Linked DNA regions of Homo sapiens: all the other regions are linked to region 2. Evidence: promoter capture Hi-C in 16 types of primary human blood cells and fetal thymus (Javierre and others, 2016). All regions are on one chromosome and are shown on one strand. Each heading gives the region's core, a stretch centred on a gene start or on the middle of the fragment in contact. The rest is flanking DNA. Distances are from core to core; before and after follow the strand shown.

Evidence for each region. Contacts are between HindIII fragments. The CHiCAGO score rates a contact against its expected background, and 5 or more counts as called.
Region 1: a fragment that was not itself captured here is called in contact with the fragment with the promoter of ZRANB2 in region 2 in 1 of 17 cell types (non-activated CD4 T cells); the score reaches 5.1 in non-activated CD4 T cells.
Region 3: a contact is called between a fragment that was not itself captured here and the fragment with the promoter of ZRANB2 in region 2, in 4 of 17 cell types (total CD4 T cells, total CD8 T cells, activated CD4 T cells and 1 more). The highest score is 9.3, in total CD4 T cells.
Region 4: a fragment that was not itself captured here is called in contact with the fragment with the promoter of ZRANB2 in region 2 in 3 of 17 cell types (total CD4 T cells, activated CD4 T cells and naive CD4 T cells); the score reaches 8.1 in total CD4 T cells.
Region 5: a fragment that was not itself captured here is called in contact with the fragment with the promoter of ZRANB2 in region 2 in 1 of 17 cell types (total CD4 T cells); the score reaches 5.9 in total CD4 T cells.

The regions. Positions count from the first base shown.
Region 1 is chr1:107,049,524-107,053,021 of GRCh38, forward strand. No RefSeq gene overlaps it. Among named protein-coding and RNA genes, the nearest start is that of PRMT6, 5.4 kb to the right of the region's middle. The HindIII fragment of the contact is 6,068 bases long and covers 1-3,498 here.
Region 2 is chr1:71,079,570-71,083,253 of GRCh38, forward strand. ZRANB2 (zinc finger RANBP2-type containing 2) reads right to left here and starts at 1,466. Exons shown (of 10, transcript NM_203350.3): 1 at 1,371-1,466. The coding sequence starts at 1,426. It overlaps ZRANB2-DT (ZRANB2 divergent transcript), which reads left to right and starts at 1,755. Exons shown (of 4, transcript NR_046217.1): 1 at 1,755-1,844. RefSeq lists an enhancer at 1,416-1,705. The HindIII fragment of the contact is 3,322 bases long and covers 1,321-3,684 here.
Region 3 is chr1:103,528,933-103,532,346 of GRCh38, forward strand. All of the region lies in intron 2 of RNPC3 (RNA binding region (RNP1, RRM) containing 3), which reads left to right. Among named protein-coding and RNA genes, the nearest start is that of RNPC3, 4.9 kb to the left of the region's middle. The HindIII fragment of the contact is 1,946 bases long and covers 940-2,885 here.
Region 4 is chr1:95,236,341-95,240,213 of GRCh38, forward strand. All of the region lies in intron 7 of TLCD4-RWDD3 (TLCD4-RWDD3 readthrough), which reads left to right. All of the region lies in intron 1 of RWDD3 (RWD domain containing 3), which reads left to right. Among named protein-coding and RNA genes, the nearest start is that of RWDD3, 4.1 kb to the left of the region's middle. The HindIII fragment of the contact is 1,601 bases long and covers 1,231-2,831 here.
Region 5 is chr1:119,148,123-119,151,528 of GRCh38, forward strand. WARS2-AS1 (WARS2 antisense RNA 1) reads left to right here. Exons shown (of 7, transcript NR_125975.1): 4 at 2,443-2,624. Among named protein-coding and RNA genes, the nearest start is that of WARS2, 9.2 kb to the left of the region's middle. The HindIII fragment of the contact is 7,646 bases long and covers 1-3,406 here.

The sequences.
Region 1 (3,498 bases), core at 601-3,100, about 36 Mb after region 2:
TGTCTGGTTTTTTTTTTTTTTTTTTTTTTTTTTTGAGGCAGAGTCTCGCTCTGTCGCCCAGGCTGGAGTGCAATGGCACTATCTCTGCTCACTGCAAGCTCCGCCTCCTGAGATCATGCCATTCTCCTGCCTCAGCCTCCTGAGTTGCTGGGACTACAGGTGCCCACCACCACACCTGGCTAATTTTTTGTATTTTTAGTAGAGATGGGGTTTCACCATGTTAGCTAGGATGGTCTCGATCTCCTGACCTGGTGTTCCCCCCTCCTCGGCCTCCCAAAGTGCTGGGATTACAGGCGTGAGCCACCACGCCCAGCCAAATGTCTTCTTTTGAGAAGTGTGTGTTCATGTCCTTTGCCCACTTTTTAATGGGGTTGTTTATTTATTCTTGTAAATTTGTTTAAGTTCTTGGTAGAAGCCAAATATTAGACCTTTGTCAGATGGATAGATTGCAAAATTTTTCTCCTATTCTGTAGGGTGCCTGTTCACTCTGATGATAGTTTCTTTTGCTTTGCAGAAGCTCTTTAGTTTAATTAGATCTCATTTGTCAATTTTTGCTTTTGTTGCAATTGCTTTTGATGTTTTTGTCATGAAGTCTTTGCCTGTGCCTATGTCCTGAATGGTATTGCCTACATTTTCTTCTAGGGTTTTTATAGTTTTGGGTTTGACATTTAAGTCTTTAATCCATCTTGAGTTAATATTTGTAGAAGGTATAAGTAAGGGATCCAGTTTCAATTTTCACTTTTTCAATATGACTAGTCAATTTTGCCAGCACAATTCATTAAATAGGGAATCCTTTTCCCATTGCTTCTTTTCATCAGGTTTGTTGAATGTCAGATGGTTGCAGATGTGTGGCCTTATTTGTAAGATCTCTATTCTGTTCTATTGGTCTATGTGTCTGTTTTTATACCAGTACCATGCTTTTTTTGTTTACTGTAGCCTTGTAGTAAGTATAGTTTGAAGTTGAGTAGCATGATGCCTCCAGCTTTGTTTTTTGCTTAGGATTGTCTTGGCTATATGGGCTCTTTTTTGGTTCTGTATGATTTTTAAAGTAGTTTTTTCTAATTCTGTGAAGAATGTCAATGGTAGTTTAATGGGAATAGCATTGAATCTCAAATTACTTTGGCGCAGTATGGTCATTTTCACAATAGTGATTCTTCCTATCCATGAAAATGGAATGTTTTTCCATTTGTTTGTGTCCTCTCCTATTTCCTTGGGCAGTGGTTTGTAGTTCTCCTTGAAGAGGTCCTTCGCTTCCCTTCTTAGCTATATTCCTAGGTATTTTATTCTCTTTGTAGCAGATGTGAATGGGAGTTCATTTATGATTTGACTCTGCTTGTCTATTGTTGGTGTATAGGAATGCCTGTGCTTTTTGCACATTGATTTTGTATCCTGAGACTTTGCTGAAGTTGCTTATCTTAAGGAGGTTTTGGGCAGAGACTATGGGGTTTTCTAGATATAGGTTCATGTCGTCTGTGGTACATATACACCATGGAATACTATGCAGCCATAAAAAGGAAAGAGATCATGTCCTTTGCAGGGAAATGGATGGAGATAGAAGCCATTATCCTCAACAAACTAATACAGGAACAGAAAACCAAACGTCACATGTTCTCACTTATAATTGGAAGTTAACAATGAGAACACAGGGACACAGGGAGGGGAACAACACACACTGGGGCCTTTCAGAGGAACAGGGGGAGGGAGAGCATCAGGATAAATAGCTAATGCTTGTGGGCCTTAATACCTAGGTGATGGGTTGATAGGTGCAGCAAACCACCACAACACATGTTTACCTATGTAACAAACCTGCACATCCTGCACATGTATCCTGGAACTTAATATAAAATTAAATTAAATTTAAAAGAAATCATATGTACTTCATAATTATATACACCTAATATGTACCCATAAAAGTTAGAAAATAAAAAAGCATGACACAGCAAAAAAAAGCCAATAGCTGGCTTTCTTTCATGTTAAAGGTTTGCACAAAAGAATAAAAAAGAGACAGAAGTTCTATTAAATGATATTCATTAGGCTTAATATCTGAATTTCATTAAGCTACCCGATTCTCATTATGCCTTAGGTAGGTAAGCAGGTGTACATTTCCATGGATGCACTGAGACATAACTTTTCCCCACATTATAATTTACATTCACATTTTTCTTTACTATTTTTATTATGGTTGGCCTGATTTATAGTAGAAATTGTTAAAATGTCATAATCAATATTTATACCTGAAGTTGTTACAGTTCAATATTCTGTATTTTAAGAGGGCTCAATAAATAGAAACTGAATTGATAATTATTAATTAAGTGTATAATATCCTTGTTTATACTACCTAAACAATTCAATACAAACTTTTCTTAAAGAATTACACCCACTCATAATAATATCATCAAGAAGCTGTGAATTTGCTATTCATCTGTTTCAGTATGGGGTTTAATAGCTGGGCCAATACACCACGGATCTAAAAGACACTATACATATCAAGATAATAACATATACCTAGGCTTTCTATGTTTGATGTTCCAATTTGTTTAGACATAAAAGTCACCACTTGTGTCTTTATTTTATATAAATTTTTTTTAACAGTAGTACTTCTTTCTATGCTGGCAGCTTCCAAGTAACTGCAGAATGGCAAGAACTACATCATTTAACGAATATTCATATCAAAGAGACAGTTATAACATTTTTCATGCCATTGCTCCTTTACCCTTCCTCAACACACTTTGAGAATTACAGTGAATTTTTGAAATCCTGAAAGAACTATCTTCAATCCTTACACTAGGCTTTAAAAAATATTTTTAAATAATATACCTTTGAATTAAAAAGGGAAAGAAATTTAGAAATAAATATTTGTGGGAGAATATCACATCAGCACATCCAAGATAAAATAATACATGAGAGTTGAGACTTAAAAGTGGTATAATAAATTGCTAGTAAAAAAGCATAATAATAATAGATAACATAACATTAACACAAAAATATAAGTTCCTCAGAGATAAGAATGTTTGCTTTTTGTTTACTTTATTCCTTATTTCTAGAATGATAAAAGTCCAGAATGCCTGTTGAATAAATGAATGGTTGAACAAATAAATGAGTGTGTTTGATACAGAAAAGAGATCATGATTCTCCCAGTCATCCAAAGCACATCTGTGAACCTCAGTATACTTGGGAGCAACAATCTGGAATATGGAAAGGTCCAGATTCCAGCACAATGCACTAGGTTCTCAGCATAAAAATGAAAAATACAAAATCTTGGTGTTCAAATGTCCACAGTCCAAAGCCAGATATATAAATAGTTCTGATACAATGATACAAGTGCAAAAAGAGTTATATGTATTAAAGGGCCATAGACTGGCTGAAAAAACATCATTTGAGCATTAGCTAAAAAGATGAGTGAGAGGAGGGAAGAGTAGAGGCACGCAAAGCAAAAGTACAGAAGTCCCAAAATTCATAGTGTTTTTGGAGAACAGTAAGCTGTATATTTCAAACTTT
Region 2 (3,684 bases), core at 216-2,715:
CTAAAAATATTCCTTTTAACTCCATTAAGCATGGAAAATATACTCTGAAAATTTATCCTGCATTTAAACATATTGTACAAACAACATTCTATTCATATATTTGTAAATGAGTTGAAATGAACTCTCATTGAGAGTCCTACCTCTGGGTGTGCTGTCATTAAAGACACTGACAAAAGCACATTATTTTACAGGTAACAACAAAGTCAGAAGTTGTTGTTCTAAATCTTTTGAACGTTTTCAATAATGTCTTACCACTCAGAGCAATACTATCCATAACATATAACTTTGGTTCTATTCAGTATCATTTGTTAGGCTTGAACTACTCCTTCAGGTCATCTTAATATCAAATTACTATCAATAGCCACCAATTAGAATTTGCTACACGTCACTGTTTACACACCCTATCCATGTTATTTCATGTTTTCATTAAAAAAAAAATTCTATTCCTTTTTTAGCAGTTAAATAAGTAATAGAATTTTAACTAAACCCAGGTTTATTTCAAAGTTTTTGCTTTTTACAATCAAAACCTATTTGTGGCTAACTTAGGTACAACAAATAAAAGGCTTTTATGTGAACATGAGTTGTACATTAAATTATTTTCCATGTTATTTCCGAATAGATACACCTATTTGTGCACCCTTCAAAAAAAATCTGATTAACTATCTAGTCGAGTACTGGCTTTGGCAACAATGTCAAAAAGCAGAGCCACTAACACACGTGCTTCTCTGCTGCAGGCATCTTAAGGGCTGAGTAGGCAAAAACACAGGCCTCTTCCCTCCTTTTCGGCTCTAAGGAGGCGAAAAGCCCAATTCTTGTGGAGAAATGATCCACAAAGAAAATGTCAGAATTTCCCAAACCGAAGAGGGTAGAGCTTCCGGAAAAGGGGAAAATAGTATGGAGGAAAAGTTTGAGTAAAAATACAAAACAAGGTGAACTATAAGAGGCAAAAGGACGAGTGCGAGAAAGCAATATTTTCCGTGAACAAGAGTAAAGTTCTGCAGAGAAAAGTCACGTGGGGGAGATCCAACACCAAGCTGGCCTGACTGGAGAGGTTTCCTATCGCTAAAACCTGGCCGGGGCGGGGGAGGGGGGTGGGGGCAAAAAGGTAGGCCATCTCGCACTCTAAAAAGAGAGGCTACCTTGCGGAGGTAATGTCGAGGAAACGCTGAAGACATATCTAGAACAAAGGCTCCCGGAAAGACCTCTCTCGTGAGGAGATTGGGAGCCTTCTTCCCGCCAGGGAACTGGCGGTTCGCCGCCTCAACCCGTCTTAAGGCACAGAAAATCATAAAAAAGGAAAATGCCGGACGGACCTCGGAAAGCTTCCACTAACAAACTCCGTCCCAATTCAGGACCCTTCTTGAACTCACTTTTTGTCAGGGCAAATCCAGTCCCCGTCACTGACTCGGAAATTCTTGGTCGACATCTTGAACGCCACCAGCACAGCCACCCGCAGCTATGTCTTCACAGGAGGAAAACGGGCCGGGGACTTTCGGCAACTCGGGGCTGTCCCCACACTGCCTGACTCGCGCCTACTACTGTGTCAGGGTTTGATAATGAGGGAACTAGCCAGGAATTCAGCTTGTACGTTGTTGTCCAGACTAAGATGCCTGTGCTACTGTTTGTTAGATGGAAAAGTTAAAATACAAATATCTTTTCTAGAACTAAACTCACAGGCGCCATAAGGACAACCCAGGCAGGAGGCCTTCGTGGCACTAGAAGCCTCGGAGAGCCCCCTACAGGTGGGAGGACCCAAGAGTAAAGTACTTCCGCTTCCTTAGGTGGAGCTGGAAAGGTGGAGGCGGAAGTGACTGATCAATTCAGGGGCGTGGGGTTCGTTTAGGGTAAGAGGCGGCTCGGGCTCTTCAAGTGTTTAGAGAAATTATTTTAATAAGGCATAAAAATTCTGTTATTTCATACACATGGGATGTCGTTTGGAAACCTATTTTTATATATACATAAATAGGTGTAACAGATAAGTAAGCAACTTATACATGGGAACCAGCTGGTAATTTTAAAACTGAGACATTGTCAACACTGTTTAAATTACCAGTGTCTTTTCTGATACCATCCCATTACTTTCTTCCACAGATAACACTTTCCCATATTTGGGATTTATTCTTTTGCTTTTTAAAAATTTATGTACGTTGTTAGTCCAAACTGCACCATTTTTGTAAGCCCCCCTGCCATTTTGCAGACCTTAGTCAAAGTGAAACATTCCACGGGGTTCGGGCGTGAGAAACAGGCTGCCTCTTATACTCTGCTGGGAGAAAGTACCACATTCCACTGGAACAAGGGCCAGAGCCGCCTCGTCCTGGGAACACCTTATCAACATGTTCCCAGGAAGCAGGCCATGGCCCCCCAGACCACTCCCACCCAGGCCTATAAATCACCCCAGCCTGTAAGAAGCAACGGGCACTGGCATTAAGCTGGTCTCCCACCTCTGTAGGTCTTATGCTGGACATAAATCCTGTATTTGTTGTTAAGCCACCCTCTCTTTCTTTAATCCTTGCCTTCCCTTCAAAACCTAACATACATGTATGTTTAATTTTATGAGCTGTGTAAGCATAGTTGATTCTGTACTCTTTTTTTGTTCATTATGCTTCTAAATTAATCCTAGGTAGTTGCATGTAGAAGTGTATAGGTGTAATTCTTTTATTTGCACTGATGTATACTGATACTATTCCGTTTTGTGGTTTTGTGACAGTTTATTCCTTCTGTTTCTCAGGCTTGGTATTACAAACAACACCAGTATGAGCATTCTTATGCATAGATTCTGGTATATAAATGCATTAATTTTTTTTAGAATACAGCATATACAGTCATGCCTCACTTAATGATAGGGATATGTTCTGAGAAATGCCACTTTCGGCAATTGTGCTGTTGTGTGAACATCATAGAATGTGCTTACACAGGCCTAGCAGGTATAGCCTACTACACACCTAGGCTATATGGTATAGCCTATTGCTCCTAGACTACAAACCTGCATTTAGTACATCTTATTGTACTAAATACTGTAGGCAGTTGTAACGCAGTGGTATTTGTGTATCTAAATATAAAGGTACAGTAAAAATATGGTATTGTAATCTTATGGGACCACCTTTGTATATGTGGTTCATCATTGACTGAAATGTCTTTATGCAAGTATGATTATGTTTAGGAGAGAAATTGTTCAACTACTCTCTAGTTATGATTGTTGCTTTAAAATCTGTATTATAACATTTTGGTCATCTAGGAGTTAGCAGGTGTTGATTATATTTTCCCTTGCAAGTTGGTCACATTTTTCCAGTTCTTTTATACTGTGTAATTGTGGATTTTATCTAGGACATTTTGAACATTATGTTGCATAGACTGAGTCCTGTTAAAAGCCTTTAGGGAATGTTGATTTTTTTTTGTTTTAGAAGGCAATCGATCCAATTTGGTTCAGGTCAAAAGTTCGGTCTCATCTTCTATGAGTACTGGTTCCATGTCAGCTGGGTTTTCAAAGGCTTTGCTGTGTCCTATACCTACAATACTCAGGGATTATTTGGGGATGTTAGCAGTAGTTTAAATTGAAATTCAGTTTTGCTATGCTATTTTGTGTTTGTTCTGCACGTGTTCAGTTTAGGTGTGAACACAGAACTTGTATAGGTTCATACATAGAATTAGGGGATCCTCTTCTCTAGCTCTCTCCTCTTACATTCT
Region 3 (3,414 bases), core at 663-3,162, about 32 Mb after region 2:
ATGACCCAAATTCTCATCGGTAAAAGGAAGGGAAGCCTTAAATCACATTATATCCATATACTGGACTGCAACTGTCTGAGAATGATGTCAAATGGTATGTGTTAATATGGAATGATAGCCCAGATAGAGTACATGAATAAAGTTGTGAAACATTATATATGATGTAACCTCAGATTTTTTGAAACTAATAGTATACATGTTAGCATATACACAGAAAAAATATGGCAGAACTATACACCAAAATGTTAAAAACATCTTTCTCTGAGAGTAGGATTACAGAGGGCTTTCATATTATATTAATATGTACTTTTATAATGGTAGGTAATTTTTTTTCAGAAAAAAAGTATTTTTAAAAATATATCATAATACATTGTAAATAAAGTATGGTAATGAAAAACGCATTGTTTTAGGGTCAAGAATAACTTGGAGGAGAGGACATGGAGCCAGTCATTGTCTTTGGAAATGTCTGTAGTGAAAGGAAGCAGTAAGAGGTTAACGGCAATATTGATAGGGCTTTTAGGCTAGAGAGCATTTGGCCTAATTGGAAAGTGATAGATTAAGAAAACAAAGGGAGAAATGTTCAAGAATAGAGTAAGTAGCCGAGTCAGGTAGGAGGAGTTAACATTAAAAATGAAAAACCATAAATCTTTGAAAATAAGAACATATGTGATACCCATTTGAGAAGAAGAAAGTTGGAGTAAGTCAGGTTAGATGACCTTCATTTCAGATAATCAAGGCTTCACTGATAATAAAGAGGTCTAAAGTTCATTTAGGGTCTTGAAAATTATTGAAACATTTTAAAATTAACTTTGTATGATGATGTAAGGCAGGGATCCTCAAACCCTGGGACACAGACTGGTACCCAGCCACGGCCTGGTACCTAACCACCACCTGTTAGAACCTGGGCCGCACAGCAGGAGGTGACTGGCAGGCTGAGGAAGCTTTATCTCTATTCAGGGCGACTCCGCCTGGCTGCCTGAGCTCCACCTCCAGTCAGATCAGCAGTGCCTTGGCCCCTGTTGTGAACTGCACATGCAAGGGATCTAGGTTGCGCTCTCAATGAGAATCTGACTAATGCCTTATGATCCGAGATGAATCAGTTTCATCTCGAAACCATCTTCTCCCCACCCCCCACCCCAGCCTGTGGAAAAATTGTCTTGCACAAAACCGGTCTCTGGTTAAGGCTTGTACTTTCATGTGTTCAAAAATATTAAGTACCTACTATGTGCTAGATGCTGATTTAGGTTTTGGGATTATATGTGAAGACAAAGATGATTATAGTTCATATTCTCAAAAGGGGAGACAGACAATAAATAATAAACTTTAATATTTTAGAAGATGATAAATGCTATGGAAAAAGGACAAGTAGAGCAATAAGATCAGGAGTGCTAAGTGGGGAGAGGTCAGGCTGTAGTTAGGGTTATATTTGAACAACAATTTGAAGGATGCGAAGGGAGTTAGCTAATGAAATTTCTGGGAGAAGTACCTTTGAATTAGAGGAACAGCTGGAACAGGGGCTCTAGGATGTGACCATGCCTGTCACGTTGTTCAAGGAAGCCACTGTGACTGGAGCAGACATAGTGGGAGTGATCTGTGGGAGCAGGAGTGGGAGTGATCATTGGATTTGAAGTCAGAGAAGTCATAGAATCTATATTATGTAGATTATAGTAAGGAACTTAGATTGCTGTCAGTAAAATAGGGAGCCATTGGAGCAAGGGGGTGACCTTGGTATTTCAAAGAATTGCTTTTGCTGTTGTGACTAGACTGAAGGGAGGGAAAGGTAGAAACAGGGAAATCCGTTAAAATATTGTGGTAATTCAGTCCAGAATTGATGGTTGCCTTGACCACAATGGTAGTGGTTAGCGGTGATTAGATTCTTTATATATTTTGAAGGTAGAAGCAAGGATTTCTTACTGTATTTATTCCAGTAGGTTTTGGGGGAACAGGTGGTGTTTAGTTACATGAATAAGTTCTTTAGTCGTGATTTCTGAGATTTTGATGTACCTGTCACCCAAGCAATATACACTGTGCCCATTGTGAAGTCTTTTATCCCTCACCCCCACTCCCAACACTTTCTCCTGAGTCCTCAAAGTCCATTGTATCATTCTTATGCCTTTGGGTCCTCATAGCTTAGCTCCTACTTAGGAGTGAGAACATACGATGTTTGGTTTTTGATTCCTGAGTTACTTCACTTAGAATAATGGTCTCCCATTCCATCTAGGTTGCTGCAAATGCCATTATTTTGTTCCTTTTTATGACTGAGTAGTATTCCATGTTATATATATATATACCATAATTTCTTTATCCACTCATTGATTGATGGGCATTTGGGCTGGTTCCGTATTTTTGCAATTGCAAATTGTGCTGCTATAAACGTGCATGTGCAACTGTCTTTTTTGTATAATGACTTATTGTCCTCTGGGTAGATACTCAGTAGTGGGATTGCTGGATGAAATGGTAGGTCTACTTTTAGTTCTTTAAGGAATCTCCACACTATTTTTCATACTTACTGTACTAGTTTACATTACCACCAGCAGTGTGAAAGTCACTTTCACCACATATTCTGCCAACATCTATTATGTTTTGATTTTTTCATTATGACCATTATTGCAGGAGTAAGGAGGTATTGCCTCATGATTTTGGTTTGCATTTCCATGATCATTAGTGATGTTGAGCAGTTTTTCATGTTTGTTGGCCATTTGTGTATCTTATTTTGAGAATTGTCTATTCATGTCCTTAGCCCATGGGATTGTTTTTTTTCTTGCTGATTTGTTTGGATTCCTTGTAGATTCTGGACATTAGTGGTTTTTTTGGATGTATAGATTGCAAATATTTTCTCCCGCTATGGGTTGTCTGTTTGTTGATTGTTTCTTTTGCTGTGCAGAAGCTTTTTAGTTTAATTAAGTCCCATCTATTTATCTTTGTTTTTGTTGCATTTGCTTTTGGGTTCTTGGTCATGACGTCTTTGCCTAAGCCAATGTCTAGAAGGGTTTTTCTGATGTTATCTTCTAGAATTTTTATGGTTTCAGGTCTTAGATTTAAGTCCTTGATCCATCTTGAGTTGATTTTTGTATAAGGTGAGAGATGAGGATCCAGTTTCATTCTTCTACATGCGACTTGCCAATTATCCCAGCACCATTTGTTGAATAAGGTGTCTTTTCCCTACTTTATGTTTTTGTTTGCTTTCTGGAAGATCAGTTTCCTGTAAGTATTTGGGTTTATTTCTGTGTTCTCTATTCTGTTCCATTGGTCTATGTGCCTATTTTTATACCAGTACCATGCTGTTTTGATGACTATGGCCTTATGGTATAGGCAAACAGGATTTCTTAATGACTTGGATATGGAATGTAGGAAAGAAGCATTAAGGATGATTACAAGATTTTTGACCTGAATAATTGGAAGAATGGAGTTGCT
Region 4 (3,873 bases), core at 781-3,280, about 24 Mb after region 2:
AAAAAAAGTAGTCTAAAAATGGGCTGGATGTTGTGAGAAAACCATTTAAGATTAAGATCCTTCATGATATCCATTGGGTGTGTTATTCACTGAAGGACAGGGAGTTGACTTCCATTTATTCCTTCTTGCATTCATCCACTCACATCCACTCATTGGGCACTGTTATGTTCCAGGCACTATGCACCTATTAGTGTAATGGAGTTGCTTTCTTTTTAGTGCCCAGCCTGACTTGTATCTTTTGAAACAATTGTTTAAAATCCATATGAAGGGGTTTACTCACTTTTAGTGTTTTCTTGTCATCCCTCTTCTGATTGGATAATTCTTCACCATCTCCCTCTCTGTCTCCACTGTTCTCTTTATTGATAATTACTTCTGCCTGAGGCAGCTATTTGAAGAGATCATCAGTTTTCCTAAATTCCTTTATTATGGCTCAGTTGGGAATATCCTGGAAAAATGAACCTGCAATTTCCCATCACACCTTAAAGAACTGGTAATGGTCTGGGTCATTAGTACACAGCTGAGCATAAAACACTGCTGAAGGGTCAGAGAAAACCCAAAAATGTAAGCATAGAAAGAAAACAGTTTCTTAATCTTGAGAACACTGTGAACCCTTTATCTGCTGTTAAATTGAGCATGACTTTCAAGCCATGCCTCCTAATTAGTTTAATTCCATGTTCTGGCATCAATAAGTAATTGAATTATAAAAGAATTCAGTGTAACAACTTAGGACATTTTGTTGCTGAGAGGTAGAATAATTCAGTGATTGAAATGGGGATGTTTGATGTTCACAAGTGGGAATTAAGGGGGTAAGGTAAAGGCCTTTTTTTTTTTTCCCATGATTTTCGTAACATCTTTTTACAAAGTAAGGACTTCTTTAACAGACCACAGTAAACATGCAGCAGACTGCTGGCTACCACTCACCATCACTGTCAGTTTGGGTTGGAGGATACACACTTGATACCAGAACACTCTAAACACTAGTTCTTTTCTGGCCTCCCCCAAATAAGGTTCTCCCTTTTGCCACTGGAATCAGGAGAATGTTGCAGAGGAATTGCATTCCTGGTAACAAGATAACCCAGCAAGACTCAGACTGCTAACCCAAGGATCAACTATTAAGGCCGTAAGATTGAAGAAGCTAAATAATTGGATTCCATTTAGCTGGACTAATTTTATGCTGAGAATTTCAGGGGATTTTATCTGCCTTTTGATCTCTTTACAATGGTTATAGTAAGCTTCTAGTAAGAGGCATAACCATCTCTTAGGGGTGCAAATTAAGTAAGTCCCTACACTCCCATCTACAAGGGAGGGCTGTGGATAGACCACATTAGGGATATTCTGTTTTTCTGTATGCATTGTAGTCAGTCCAGGTGCCAGATTTGATGGGGTGACCTGCCATGTACGTGATACTTGAAATGCATCTTACTTGATGAGGGGTACTATTGGTCTTACTTCACAGAGAAGATAACTGATACTCAGACTGGTTAAATAACCACCAGGCTCCAGGTGTATGGGCCTTTGCACTGCATCATGCTCCTTAATAGAGAGATGGGGCTGTTGCATCAGGAAAATAGTTCTTGGAAAGCAAGGAAATACTTGTGCAGAAAGAGCGATAATGAGCACCCAGAGAAAAGATATGAGTGTGAGCCAACTTATGTTCAGAACAATCCCAAAGGGGAGTGTTTGTGCATGTATGTGTGGATCTATGAGAGGCGTGAGATTGGTATTGTATCACCATTTTCCTGATGAGGAAATTGAGTGACACAGATTATGTGGCCATAGTCAATGTTCGTTATATGTGGGAGTTGTGCTTCTGGAAAGAATCTTACAGATAAAAAAGTTGTAAGATGGGAGAACCCAATATCATGTAATAGGTTTTCACAGAAGCTGCAGAGTGAATTTTTGTATTTTAGCAACACTAATGTTCAAATTAGTTTGGGCCTTCTTATAAAATGAATCATGACTGTCACACATTGACCCCTCTAAATCTGCTCAGCTCGGTTTTATGCTGATTGTCAGTATTGAGCTGACTTCTATAAAACCGATGAGATTGCTACTTTTAGCTTCATTTATTTTTAGTTTTTTTTTTTTTCTTCTGAAGCTACATTGAAACTTATGTAAAAATCCAACTGAAGCATAAAACAAGCACTGGTGTATGCTTGCCTGGGAGCTGCCTGGGAGCAAGAGGAGACAGTCTTGTCTTACCAAGTATGAGAGGGTGCTGAAGGTTTCTTGGTGGTTTTCTTCAAAGTTGTATCTTGAGGATATATAACAATTGCAAAGAAAAAAAACACAAGTGTAGGGAAGGTCAGATGTATATGGTATGTAAACAATTTCTTAATGGGCTCTTAGTGAATCCTGAAAAACCCATTCTCTTAAATTTTACCTTTTTTTAAAAATGTCTTCTGTTATTTGACTGCATTTATAGAGTTTCTGTTGTGTGTTGTATTTTATTAAGTAGAATGAAACCTTAAAAATAGCATTAGTGTGAATTTGGAGTTCTAAAAGTTTAAGTTTCTCTAGTTTGAATTTCTGTTTGGAATGTGTTTAGGAGCTTACTTTCTGATGTTTGTAAGGAAGCATAAGGTTTGAAACCTGTTTCAGTTTGTGTTTTAGGTATGAAAATGATACACTTACTATAAGACAGAATGATTTGGTTAGAAACAACAAGTAGTCAATTTGTATCAACTTGAACAAGAGGGCAAGACCCTTTTGGTAGGGTCTTTAGAATACATGAAAACACCCTTGGACTTATGGAGATTTTAGTTTTCTGGGGCAAGCCTTAAGTTTTCTAGGGCATAGATGTTTGTTGAGAATGATCAGTTTGTGAATTAAGCTTATTAACTAAGGTTCTGGGGGGCTAAGGAGGGGCAGAGATTAGTATTAGATTTAGAGCATAATTATTTTTCTGCTAATCACTGTTTCTAAGCTGTTAATAACCTTAAAGCAGATAGGGGCAACTTTGTTTTCTTTTTTATTATGGCAAAAAAAGAAAACAAAAAATCAGACTTACAGTGCATGTGTCATATGAAAAATTCTGAGGCAGAAAGGAGCCAGTTTAATTGCTTGTACAATGTCAAGCAGATGAGATATGGAAGAGTACAATACATACTTCTAGAGTTTTTGGGAGAAAATGAGTTTTTAAAAGTATGTAATTTTATTGCCACATTAAATACCAGAAGAATGGAGTATGTTATTGGGCTTTTCAGTTTCTTGTAGAGATGACAGTATCATTTTGTATAATCTTATTTTGCAGCTACAGTGTATGTGTGGGTGGGCAGGGGGATTTACCAAGACCAATTAGGAAGAATGCTAATCCTTTCCAATTCTTAAAAGAACTAAGGCAGTTTTCTTCCGAACATATAACTAGTATGACGGTCACAGTTTTCTAAGGTGAAAGTCAGGAGTTTCACCCATTGCTATTCTGTTTGCTGACTAGGACCAGAAAATAACACAGAGAAAAATGAAAATTGGTAAGGACTGACATGGCTGGCTCAGTAGCTTTTCAAGACTTTCCCCCTGGACTACCAACATGTTTCTTTCCTGTGGTTCCCTGCACCAGAGAGGACCCGGTAGGTGTTTATATGGCACAGGTTGGAGAACACTGTGGGTCTCAGGGTTTTGATCAGAAAAGGATTCTTCAAAGTTTGCAGCATAGCATCTTGCTTCAGTGCGGATACATTGCCTTCTTTTGTAGTAAAATCTCTGTCTCCTCCTTATAGGGACCCTTGTGATTACATTCAGGGCTCACCTGGGTAATCCAGGATAATACTCCCCTCTCGAAATCGTTAACTTAATCATGTCTGCAGAGGCTCTCTTGCCATGTGAGGGAGCGTATTCACAGCTTCTGGGAAACAGAATGTACACATCTTTGGG
Region 5 (3,406 bases), core at 453-2,952, about 48 Mb after region 2:
CCAGTTCTAACACTGCTATAGCAAGTAAAGTGACATTGGAAAGTCCTTAACTTTTCCACCTTTTTTTTTTTATTAGACAGAGTCTCACTCTGTTGCCCAGGCTGGAGTGCAGTGGAGTGATCTGGGCTCACTGCAACCTCTGCCTCCTGGGTTCAAGTGATTCTCCTGCCTCAGCCTCCTGAGTAGCTGGGATTACAGGTGCCCACCACCACACCCAGCTGATTTTTGTATTTTTAGTAGAGATGAGGTTTCACCATGTTGGGCAGGCTGGTCTCGAACTCTTGACCTCAGGCGATCCACCCACCTCAGCCTCCCAAAGTGCTGGGATTACAGGCATGAGTCACCACGCCCAGCCAAGTCCCCTATTTTTAAAAATATTAGCCACTAGATAATTCAGTATGAGTCCACACAACCACTGACAGTGAAAACAGGGACATACTTCTTGGGGCCTTTCTCCTGGTCTGCATGCACAACCCCACCACAGGAGTAAGAGGCGGGGGTACACTTACCACTTACGTTGTCACGGCTAGTTATCACCTCAGTAAAAACAAGACTACCATGCCTAGTGCACAGAAGGTCACAGGACACAGGGCTGTGGTTTCTCCTCAAAGAGTGACATTCGTTTAGAACTTAGTTCATCCCTCTTATCCCAGACTGCTTGAGAATTAAGGAGGGAAGGAAAAGAAGAGGGTCTCTAGCTCTGATCTTTACTGTGTTGGGAAGATCCCCACTCTAATCCTGTTGCCACTCCTTTTTTTTTTTAAGACAATAATAAGGTCTCCTTTTCTAGAACACTCAGCTCATAAGTTTTTAGACCTGTCCTTGGTGGCCGGACGCGGTGGCTCACGCCTGTAATCCCAACACTTTGGGAGGCCAAGGCAGGCGGATCACGAGGTCAGGAGATCGAGACCATCCTGGCTAACATGGTGAAACCCTGACTCTATTAAAAATAACAAAAATTAGCCGGGCATGGTGGCAGGCACCTGTAGTCCCAGCTACTCGGGAGGCTGAGGCAGGAGAATGGTGTGAACCCAGGAGGTGGAGGTTGCAGTGAGCCGAGATCGTGCCACTGCACTCCAGCCTGGGAGACAGATCGAGACTCCGTCTCAAAAAAAAAAGTTTTTAGACCTGTCCAACTGACATTTAACACCATGAGATGGTGAACTTGGGGAAGACATGAGACTAGTAACACACACACACAGATTTTCAAGAGCTTGACATTCCATTATTTACTCACCTAGCAAATACTTATTGGGTGTCTTTTGTGCCAGGCACTGTACTAAATGCACAGAGCTGAATAGGATACCATCTGTGCTCGTCAAGATCTCCGTTTAATGAAGGAGAAGGCAAACAACAAACAGAATTTCAAGACATAAGATGTTGGCTGTGGGTTTGTCAAAAAAAAAAAAAAAGAAGAAGAAAATTCAAGAGAAACATCTTTGTATCAGGAAGCCCTTGTGATTTCCTTAGAATCACACTTTGTCAGCAATCCTAGCCTCACTGCTTGCTGTTCGTATAACCTTGGACAGGCTTCCTAAGAGTTCTGGACCTCAGTGTCCTCATCTGAAAATGGGGGCAAAGAATAAGCTCCCAAAGTTTCCTTACTGCTCTAAGATGAGTACTGAGCTCAATCTTGAAGGAGTGTCTGTATAGAATTTTGAATTGGAAAGAGGAGCAGGGTGCCCTTAGGAGAGAGAACTGCATGAAGAAAGCAAGGATATGCAAATGAATAGAGCATAAAGAAAGGTGAGAGTAAAGAGAATAAGGTACCGACACATCTCCCTGCTTCCTCCTTCACCCGCTTACGTGTATTTTCAATCAGCCATCAGAGTGACCTATTAAAATGTATGTCAGCTCATGGTCACTACTCTGCCCAAAACCCTCCAGTGACTTTCCATGTCATTTGGAAAAAATCCAAAGTTCTCAAAACCTATAAGACCTAAGTGACCTGCATCCCCCATCCCAACCTCTCTTTCTGGCCCTTTCCCCATTAACTTCCCCCTGCTTTGCTTTACTCCAGACATGCTGGTCTCCTCACCAATGCTCACCAGTTACCACCTAAAACATTTTACTTTATTTTCTCCGCCTCTAGAACATAAGCAGCATGGGAGCATAGCCTTTTGTCTGCTTTATTATGCATCCTCAAAGTTCAGAATGTGCATGTCTAGTAACATATTTGTTAAATGCATTTTCTTATTTACAAGTAAGGAAACTAAGATCAAAGAGAATGCAAATGAAGTCACACTGCTCTTTAGGAGAGGGTGGACCAGTATGTGCACAGATTTTCTGTTTCTCTGCCCCAAAGGTAGATAGAATGATGGGCCCTGAAGATGGCTATATGGCAGAAGGAACTTTGCAGATGTGATTAAGAATCTTGAGATGAGAATATTATCCTGGTTTATTCTGTTTAGTCCAATGTAATCATAGAGGTTTTTCTAACAGGGGAGCAGGAGAGTCAGTCTAAGAAGGAAATGTGATGATGGAAACAGAGGTTGGAAGATGGAAGAGGACCCAGAGTCAAGGAATGCAGGTAGAAAAGAAAAGCCTGGATTCTCCCCTAAAGCCTCCAGATGGAACACAGCCCTGCCTCCACCTTGATTTCAGGACTTCTTACCCCAAGAATCGTAAGCTAATACATTTGTTTTTGTTTTTGTTTTTGTTTTCTTTGAGATGGAGTCTTGCTCTGCTGCCCAGGCTGGAGTGCAGTGGACTGATCTTGGCTCACTGCAGCGTCCATCTTCCGGGTTCAAGCGATTCTCCTGCTTCAGCCTCTCAAGTAGCTGGGATTACAGGCGCCCACCACACCCGGCTAATTTTTTTTTTTTTTAATACTTTAAGTTTTAGGTTACATGTGCACAACGTGCAGGTTTGTTACATATGTATACATGTGCCATGTTGGTGTGCTGCACCCATTAACTCGTCATTTAGCATTAGGTATCTCTCCTAATGCTATCCCTCCCCCCTCCCCCCACCCCACAACCGTCCCCAGTGTGTGATGTTCCCCTTCCTGTGTCCATGTGTTCTCATTGTTCAATTCCCACCTATGAGTGAGAACATGCGGTGATTGGTTTTTTCTCCTTGCAATAGTTTGCTGAGAATGATGGTTTCCAGCTTCATTCATGTCCCTACAAAGGACATGAACTCATCATTTTTTATGGCTGCATGGTATTCCATGGTGTATATGTGCCACGTTTTCTTAATCCAGTCTATCATTGTTGAATATTTGGGTTGTTTCCAAGTCTTTCCTATTGTGAATAATGCCACAATAAACATACGTGTGCATGTGTCTTTATAGCAGCATGATTTATAATCCTTTGGGTATATACCCAGTAATGGGATGGCTGGGTCAAATGGTATTTCTAGTTCTAGATCCCTGAGGAATTGCCACACTGACTTCCACAATGGT